Regions from separate parts of the Homo sapiens genome. Here regions 2 and 3 are each linked to region 1. Evidence: promoter capture Hi-C in 16 types of primary human blood cells and fetal thymus (Javierre and others, 2016). All regions are on one chromosome and are shown on one strand. Each heading gives the region's core, a stretch centred on a gene start or on the middle of the fragment in contact. The rest is flanking DNA. Distances are from core to core; before and after follow the strand shown.

Evidence for each region. The method cuts DNA at HindIII sites, captures the fragments that hold promoters and counts their contacts. A CHiCAGO score of 5 or more calls a contact.
Region 2: a fragment that was not itself captured here is called in contact with the fragment with the promoter of LRRC39 in region 1 in 1 of 17 cell types (activated CD4 T cells); the score reaches 5.8 in activated CD4 T cells.
Region 3: a contact is called between a fragment that was not itself captured here and the fragment with the promoter of LRRC39 in region 1, in 1 of 17 cell types (M1 macrophages). The highest score is 6.1, in M1 macrophages.

The regions. Positions count from the first base shown.
Region 1 is chr1:100,176,856-100,179,555 of GRCh38, forward strand. LRRC39 (leucine rich repeat containing 39) reads right to left here and starts at 1,401. Exons shown (of 10, transcript NM_144620.4): 1 at 1,280-1,401. The HindIII fragment of the contact is 12,638 bases long and covers 1-2,700 here.
Region 2 is chr1:100,461,475-100,464,396 of GRCh38, forward strand. It overlaps CDC14A (cell division cycle 14A), which reads left to right. Exons shown (of 16, transcript NM_003672.4): 9 at 1,177-1,407. Among named protein-coding and RNA genes, the nearest start is that of GPR88, 75 kb to the right of the region's middle. RefSeq lists enhancers at 674-1,295, 2,574-2,663. The HindIII fragment of the contact is 1,174 bases long and covers 1,074-2,247 here.
Region 3 is chr1:99,837,360-99,840,134 of GRCh38, forward strand. No RefSeq gene overlaps it. Among named protein-coding and RNA genes, the nearest start is that of AGL, 12 kb to the right of the region's middle. The HindIII fragment of the contact is 241 bases long and covers 1,271-1,511 here.

The DNA of each region.
Region 1 (2,700 bases), core at 151-2,650:
ATATAAATGCCATATATCTTGAAAACATAAAAGTGACAGTACTTTTAACAGAATATGGAAGAAGGAAATAAGGAAAAGAAGTAAATGATAAGAACACCGATATCCACATCTTCGAAGTGGGGAATCAACAGATACTGTCTGTACCTTATGGAACAAGAAATAAAGATTAAAGTATTTGCTTAAAGTTATTAAGGTAATCAAGAGAGAAGCTAAAAATAGGGATATAACTCTATGGCAGTGTAAGGGAACTTAATCCCCACCTCTCATAATGAAGCTCCACAGATGTTTAAAGTTGATTAAAAATAGCATGCAATTGTCTTTGAAAAAGAAAAAAAAGAGAGAAATATGGAGATAACCACTGAAAACTAAATTCCAAAATGGTTAAAATGATTACTTCTAGGGAGCAGGACTGGTGATAGAGAGGAATCGGATAGATAATATTGCTTTTCATTATTAACCTCTTCTAAATTATTGATTTTTTAAACTAATATTATGCAGTATATATGTGTGTGAGACAGTCAAAGAAAGAGGAGAACTATATTACAGAAAAAAGTTTAAAATTTCAAGATTGATAAATAATTGGCATAGGCAGGAAATTGTTGAGAGAATCTCTAAGCAAGGCATGCCGAATTTACTCAGGAACAGAATGCGAGATCTCTTTGCTGTGAAGAAACCTTGGGATACATACACTGGTAATCCAACTTCCTGAGCATATTGCAACCAATTTACAATTTATTGTCTCTAATTTAAGAAAGTTTGAAGTTTTTGCTAAATACTCGAATAAAAATATTTTTGAATTCCCAAGTATCTACATGTATACATGTATTTTAGAAGACATGTAAAACAATTCATCCATTTGCTAATTCATTTCCTCATTTGCCATTAAATGTTGCTCATCCATCAGTTTTCCTATAACAACCAACTTCCCCTAGGGAAACACAAGTCAATAATGATATATTTCTTCCTCCAGCACAGGACTGCTCTCTACTCTGATTAGTACCATAATAGAAAAAAAGCACATAATGTGACAAGTGAGGTAAGCATAGAAAAGAATTGCAGAAGAATTGTTTCTTACTTCTGGGGAAATCTATCTTCCAGAGGAGCACAATTATATGAGTGACCATGAACACCCCGCAAAAAAACTTTTAAATTCTATTCCAGTTTGTTTGGACATTCCAACCAATACAGACACAGTATAGGTATCAGCAGCAATCTATTTACATGTGAAGAAGAAAGGAAAAATGTTTTTGAAAAATACTTACCATTGTCAAATACTTACCACACATAACCAAAGTTAGCGACTATCAGTTAAGAGTAGATTGCAGGGGGAAATTTTTTTTTCAGTGTGGCTCCAAATGATTAAAATCCCCAGTCAGCTGTAACCAAGTGAAATGTAATGTCAGCCTAGTTCTAATTTTAGTTCATGGACAAAGCTGAGAATAGAAAGAATCACATGAGGCTTCTTTGCGACGGATCAGCTGATAATGTATGTGAGTGCGTTCTGTGGACTGCAAAATACGCTACAGACATTATAAAACTATCAGGCATAACTATTTCTAAGATCTTGAAAAATAATGCCTATTCAAAGTCCTTCTACTTTTCACAGCTTAATCATTTCACAGAATTTCATGCATCTATTCCATCCAAGCAGAGAAACTTGGAATATGTTGATGTATGCCACAACAAAAATTCTACCCAGTAAACCATGGATCTGCAAATATTTGAACTAAAGACCCAGATGCTTTAGAAAAAGAAAAAATAAAGGTGTGGATAAGCATGAGTAACACAGAAGCCCCAAACTTCTGCTGTACCTGGGCTTCAAATTAAATTACCTCTCACTTTGATCTCTTCAGCTTTCATAGATAGGACTTAATTCCAGGTTCTTAAAAAATAAACTATATCTTTTTTTGAATTTATAATATATGCACATGGAACAGAATTCAAAAGCTCAATCTCCACTCTCTCCATCCCCCACCCCTTCCACCATCCCTGCCTCCAGTAGGGAGGTTCTCTTCAAGTTCTCTTCTCTGAAGGCAACCACTATTGCCAGTTCTTTGTGTACCTTTACAAAGATGGTCTATGAATTTACGAGCTTAAATATGCCTATATCCCTTAAAAGCACACATATGTGAAGGCATGCACACATACAAAAATGGTAGCATACTATATACATTGTTCTATACTGTCTTTTCTTCACTCAGGATATCTTGGAAACTGTTTCATATTAGTATATTTAGAGCAGCGTCATTCTTTTTAATGGCTACATAGCAGTTTAGCGTGTAGGTGGATCATAATTTATGTAGTCATTTGGACATCTCAGCAATATTAATGCTTTAAAAATTTATGCCTGATTATCTCACAGAAATTCTCCAACACTTCTATAATGAATTAAGTTCTAAGAGTTGTGGGACTGCTCAAGATCACAGAAAGAGTAAAGAAGCCATGGCCACAATTGAAACTCTAACTTCCCTGTCCCGAGAGTGTACACCACCCAACACATACAGAGTGCTTGCATGTGTTCATAAGTAAAAATCAAGATCTCACACCTGTAATCCCAGCACTTTGAGAGGCCAAGATGGTAGGATCACTTGAGCCCAGGAGCTGGAGACCAGCCTGAGCAACAGAGTGAGACCCTGTATCTACCAAAAAAAAAAAAAAAAAAAAAAAATTAAAGTAGCCAGGCATGGTGGCCCTGTCTCC
Region 2 (2,922 bases), core at 411-2,910, 280 kb after region 1:
ATGGGTTCCAACTGAGATAATTGCACTCAGCTGGTATGTTAGGGTTCAGTGAATTCTGAATGGGTTACAGATGTGGCCATCAGTGTGCTGGGAACTTAGTCCCCTGAACTTTTGGAGCTGCCATTGCAAGGCCTGCAAAGGCCAAAGCCCCCAGTGGTTGCCTTGGCTGATTAGCTAAGGCTAGGTCTGTAACCCAGCTGACTGTGTAGCTCCCAGGAATACTCACATGATGGTGGAGCCACTCAAAAATAAAAGGGGATTTAAAGGTGGAGCATCTTCCTCCCTCAAAAAAAGGAAGTGTCCACAAAAGTTATTGTTTATTTTTAACTAAAAAAATTTATATTTTAATTGATAAAAATTATATATTTATGGTGTACAACAACTTTTGAAATATGTATACATCGTAGAATGGTTAAGTCAAGTCTTACTTAAGTATTCACATATTTATCATTTTTTGTGGTGAGAAGACTTAAATTTTACTTTCTAAATGACTTTAAAGTATATAATACATTGTTATTATAGTCACTATGTTGTACAATAGATCTCTGGGACATACTCCTTTCTAACTGAAATTTTGTTTTCTTTGACCAATATCCTCCCAACACCCCCTCTTTTAGTTTCTTAATCTGTTAAATGGAATTAGCCATACTTAAGAGATGGTTTTGAGAATTTGAAATGATACGCAATTGTGACTTGTACATAGTAGGTGCTTAATAATAATTGCTTCTGGGGAGCATTGTACTACAAATTAAAACTATACATATGGCAAAAAAGCTTCAGCTGTAGTTGAAAACTGTTTGTCAAGTAGAGAATAAAGCTCAAGAGAGAATAAAGTCACCATTCTAGGTCTGTTATGCACATTTGATTACTTCAAGAATGCTTTTGTCTTGGGAGTGGGAAGAGTATGCTCCCAGGATTCGAATCTAGAGGTTGAGATTTTGAACTTTAATGATGTATTTTCAGTACTTACAGAAGTTTTCTTTTTAACCTCCTGTGGTGCTTACAGTTATGCAGATTGATGCTTGTAGGAGCTTGCTGTGACCTCTTCTCTCACACAACACACTTTCCTCCCAAGCTTTGTTGAGATTTATACACTTCATTGTTGAGAGTTTTGTATTTCTGGGTTGTGGAAGATGAAATGCATGCCTTTTGCTTACTGCTCCTTTGTTCCTTTAGGTTATCCTCTTCACGCCCCTGAAGCCTACTTTCCTTATTTCAAAAAGCATAATGTGACTGCAGTTGTGAGGCTAAACAAAAAGATTTATGAGGCAAAGCGCTTCACAGACGCTGGCTTCGAGCACTATGACCTCTTCTTCATAGATGGCAGCACACCCAGTGACAACATCGTGCGAAGGTTCCTGAACATCTGTGAGAACACCGAAGGGGCCATCGCCGTTCACTGCAAAGGTGTGTGCAAGGCCTCGGTGGTGGTGGCTGTGCTTATCGAAGGGGCGGGCCAAGGAAGAGCAAATAACATAAAACAAAACCTGTTTAGTGTCTTAGAAAAACAATGAGGTTTTAAATTTCAGACAACTGGGACACAAACTCATTTTAATAACCCCTTCTTAAAGAAACGATTGCTTGGGTGTGGACAATTGGTGGTGGTGTGGCTTTCTTGATATGCCAGTTTTTCAGACCTTACCTTTCCAGGCCCACGTGCCACAATGAGGGGAAACACAGTAGCAGTGTCTTTAGGCTGCAGGAACACCTTTAAACAGGTAAAATTCTCAAGAGACAAGGGTTGTTAGTTTTCCTCTCTCCTTTGTTTTTTTTCAGAATTGCCCATCTCTTCTCCATCCTCTTGCACTGTCGTGGTTCTGTTTTATGACCCAGTTATCTGGACCCCCATTCCAGTCTCTGCTTTTCCCTCCCCTCCTAGTCTTTGGCTTCATGGAGCAGAGCGTCTTCCATGCCTGTTGCTAGGGGCAATCCGCTAGCTTACAATGCTGCTGATGTGATGCTGCCTCATGGAATAAACTTAAAGAGTTTGTTTTGCAAAAATCTCTGATCTCTGGGGGTGGATACTTTGGGGCAGGAATTGTTCAGACTATAGAAGGTTTAGGATTGCCAGATTTAGCAAATAAAAATACAGGCTGCCTAATTAAATTTGAAAGTTAGATAAACAATGAATACTTTTAAAACAAAAAGTATAAATATGTCCCAAATATTGCAGGGAACATGCATTCTGTATTTTATCTGGCAACCCCATGTCAGCTACTCAGAAAATATGACATGCCATTTGCTCTAAGCTTGTTTGACTTCGAGGAGGCTTAAAATCCACTCCATTCCAGATCTTTCGGTATGGATAATACTGGAAATATTCCAGATATTTTACTGGGTCTTTGATTTCAGCGAGGAGAAATCACTAGGGCCGCCCTGGGCTGGAGCCTCGAGTTCCTCATGTGCAGCTCCTCCTAGTGTCGCTGGGTGGTGCTGTGCTTATGGTTTTGGGTCTAGACCCGGTTTCCCTCTCATTTTATGCTAATCATCTAGTAGGTGTTGGGGAGGGTGCTGTTCTTTTCATGTGCCTAGTGCTGCTGTAACTGACTTATTCAGACGAGTATGGCTTTGGTTCTGACAGAAATTAAAATGCCGTTTTGTAGGCCCTTGTTTCTATGTTTAAGATTTGAGTAGGTGGAGGTACTTTGTGAACATGTGAGCAAAAATGGGAAGCTGCGGTTTCCCAGAGACCCAGAGAGATGGAAATGAGCAGCACGTGGCCTGGGTTTGGAGCAGGGCTCCCCATGCCAGGCTCCCTCCTCCTGGGTGGGCAGAGCTCTCCCTCCCCACCCTCCCCATTAGCTAGCAGGATGGGCCCTGGCTTTGTGGGATATCTTGTCTCTGGCGTGGAGTCTGTTAGGAAGGTGTCACTTGCTGGCTCATTTGTGGGTGCTGCTTTCAGGCCACAGTGGGGTGCCAGTG
Region 3 (2,775 bases), core at 141-2,640, 340 kb before region 1:
CCCCGTCTCTACTAAAAATACAAAATTAGCCGGGCATGGTGGTGCATGCCTGTAATCCCAGCTACTCGGGAGGCTGAGGCAGGAGAATTGCTTGAACCTGGGAGGCGGAAGTTGCGGTGAGCCAAGATCGCGCCATTGCACTCCAGCCTGGGCAACAAGAGCGAAACTCCGTCTCAAAAAAAAAAAAAAGAAGAAGAAGTGGATAATACATGAGTCTATATAGCTTTGGAAAAAGAAAGCAATCAATTATGACATGGAGTACATGAGAGAGTACAGTCCTTTCTTAATACCAAACTCTAAACCTTTCAATTCAACAATAGTTTGTCAAATGTCATAACTGCTCACTTTTGCACTATTTGTAGAACTTGAATGTTTTCATATTTATACTTCACAGTAAATTAACTATATGGAAGTTACTGATTTTGATGTATTCTCTCTTGGGGAAAGGACAGGGAAGAAAGGGCAAGAGACACACTGTTCTTGGATTCCTTCTCAAGATGTTATTGAGTGTTTTCTATACAACAGGCAATGTTTTAGGTGCTGGGGATTCCGGAGAAAAGATATTTTCTCCTCTCAATAAGCTCACCCTCTAGTAGGACAGACATTTAATTGTTAGGTCAGGATACCTGATGCATTCTTAGGAATTTTGCCACTCTGAGAGCTTTGTTTTGACAGGTTTGTTTTCCACCCTTCTGAGCTGGGCAAAGGACACACAAAATCAGCTGTCAAATCAATTCCTATTCAAAACTGAGGAAAAAAAAAAAACTAACCAAAGTTAAAGCTTTTGAAAAGACAGTAAATGCATCATGGTTAGCACTATGCTAACCATAAATTTACCATGCTGCTATAAGATATAGCAAAATCAAGCCCTTTCCTGTGATACTTCAAAAAGGAAAAGAAAATATGTATTCTTTAAAAAATAAAGAGGCCAGGCACTGTAGCTCACACCTGTATTCCCAGCACTTTGGGAGGCCGAGGCAGGCGGATCATTTGAGGTCAGGAGTTCAAGACCAACCTGGCCAACATGGTGAAACCCTGTCTCTACTAAAAATACAAAAATTAGCCAGGTGTGGTGGCACACACCTGTAGTCCCAGCTACTTAGGAGGCTGAGGCAGGAGAATCACTTGAACCCGGGAGGCAGAGGTCGCAGTGAGCCAAGATCACGCCACTGCACTCCAGCCTGGGCAACAGAGTGAGAACTCTGTCTCAAAAAAAAAAAAAAAAAATTAAACATAAAAAATAAAGAATCATCTCAATTGATGCAGAAAAAGCTTTTGACAAAATTCAACATCATTTCATGATACAAACACTCAGCAAACTAGAAGAAAACTACCTCAACCTAATAAAAGCCATATGTAAAAAAATCTACAGCAAACATCATACTCAACAGTGAAAGACTGAAAACTTTTCTTCTAAGGTCAGGAACAAAGCAAGGATAACCACTTCCACCACTTCTATTCAACATATTGAAAGTCCTAGACAGAACAATTGATCAAGACAAATAAATGAAAGCTTCATCCAAATTGAAAAGGAACAAGTAAAATTATCTCTGTTCACAGATGTGATATGTAGGAAACTAAGATACCACACACACACACACACACACACACACACACACACACAGTTAGAATAAATGAATTCAGCAAAGCAGCAGGATACAAAGTCAATGCACAGAAATCAATTGCATTTTGATACACTAACAATGAGTAATCTGAAAGGAAATTAAGAAAACAATTCTATTTAAAATAGCATTTAAAAACTTAGGAATTCACAAACCAAAAGGAGACCTGTACACTGAAAACTATAAAACATTGCTAAAAGAAATTAAGAAAGACATAAATAAATGGAAAACCATCCCATGGTTCATGGATTAGAAGATTAATATTGTCAAAATGTCAGTACTACCCAAAGTGATCTACAGATTGACTTTTTTTTTACAGAAATAGAAAAATTAGTTTTAATATTCATGTGGAATCTTAAGGGACCCTGAACAGCTAAAACAATCTTGAAAAAGAAGAACAACATTGGAGGACTCACATTTCCTGATTTTAAAACTTACTACAAAACTTTGGTAATTGAAACAGTGTGGTACTGGCATAAAGACAGATATATAGATAGACAAATGAAATAGAATAGAGAGCCCAGAAATAAACCCCAGTATATATAGTCAAATGTTTTCCAACAACAGTACTAAGACCATTCAGTGGGGAAAGGACAGTCTTTTCAACAAATAGTGCTGGGAAAACTGAATAGCCACATGCAAAATAATGAAAATGGACTGTTAACCTAACCCCATATACAAAAATTAATTCAAAATGAATCATAGACCTAACAAAAGAGCTAAAACTATATAATTCTTAGAAGAAAATATAGGGCAAAACTTCATGATATTGAATTTGGCAATGAATATGACACCAAAGACACAGGCAAAAAGCAAATAGATTAATTGGATTTCATTAAAATGTAAAACTTTTGTGCTTCAAAGGACACTATCAATAGCATGAAAAGACAGCCTACAGAATGGGGGAAAATATTTTAAAATCATACATCTGATAAGGGATTAATATCTAGAATATGTAATGAACTAATCTAAAACTCAACAACAACAACAAAAATTCAAAAGTAGGCAGAGGACTTAAATAGACATGTCTCCAAAAGATTTACAAATGGCCAGTAAGCACATAAAAAAATGTTCAACATCACTACCCATTAGGGAAATGAAAATCAAAAACACATTGAGATACCATCTCACATCTACCAGGATGGCTACTATA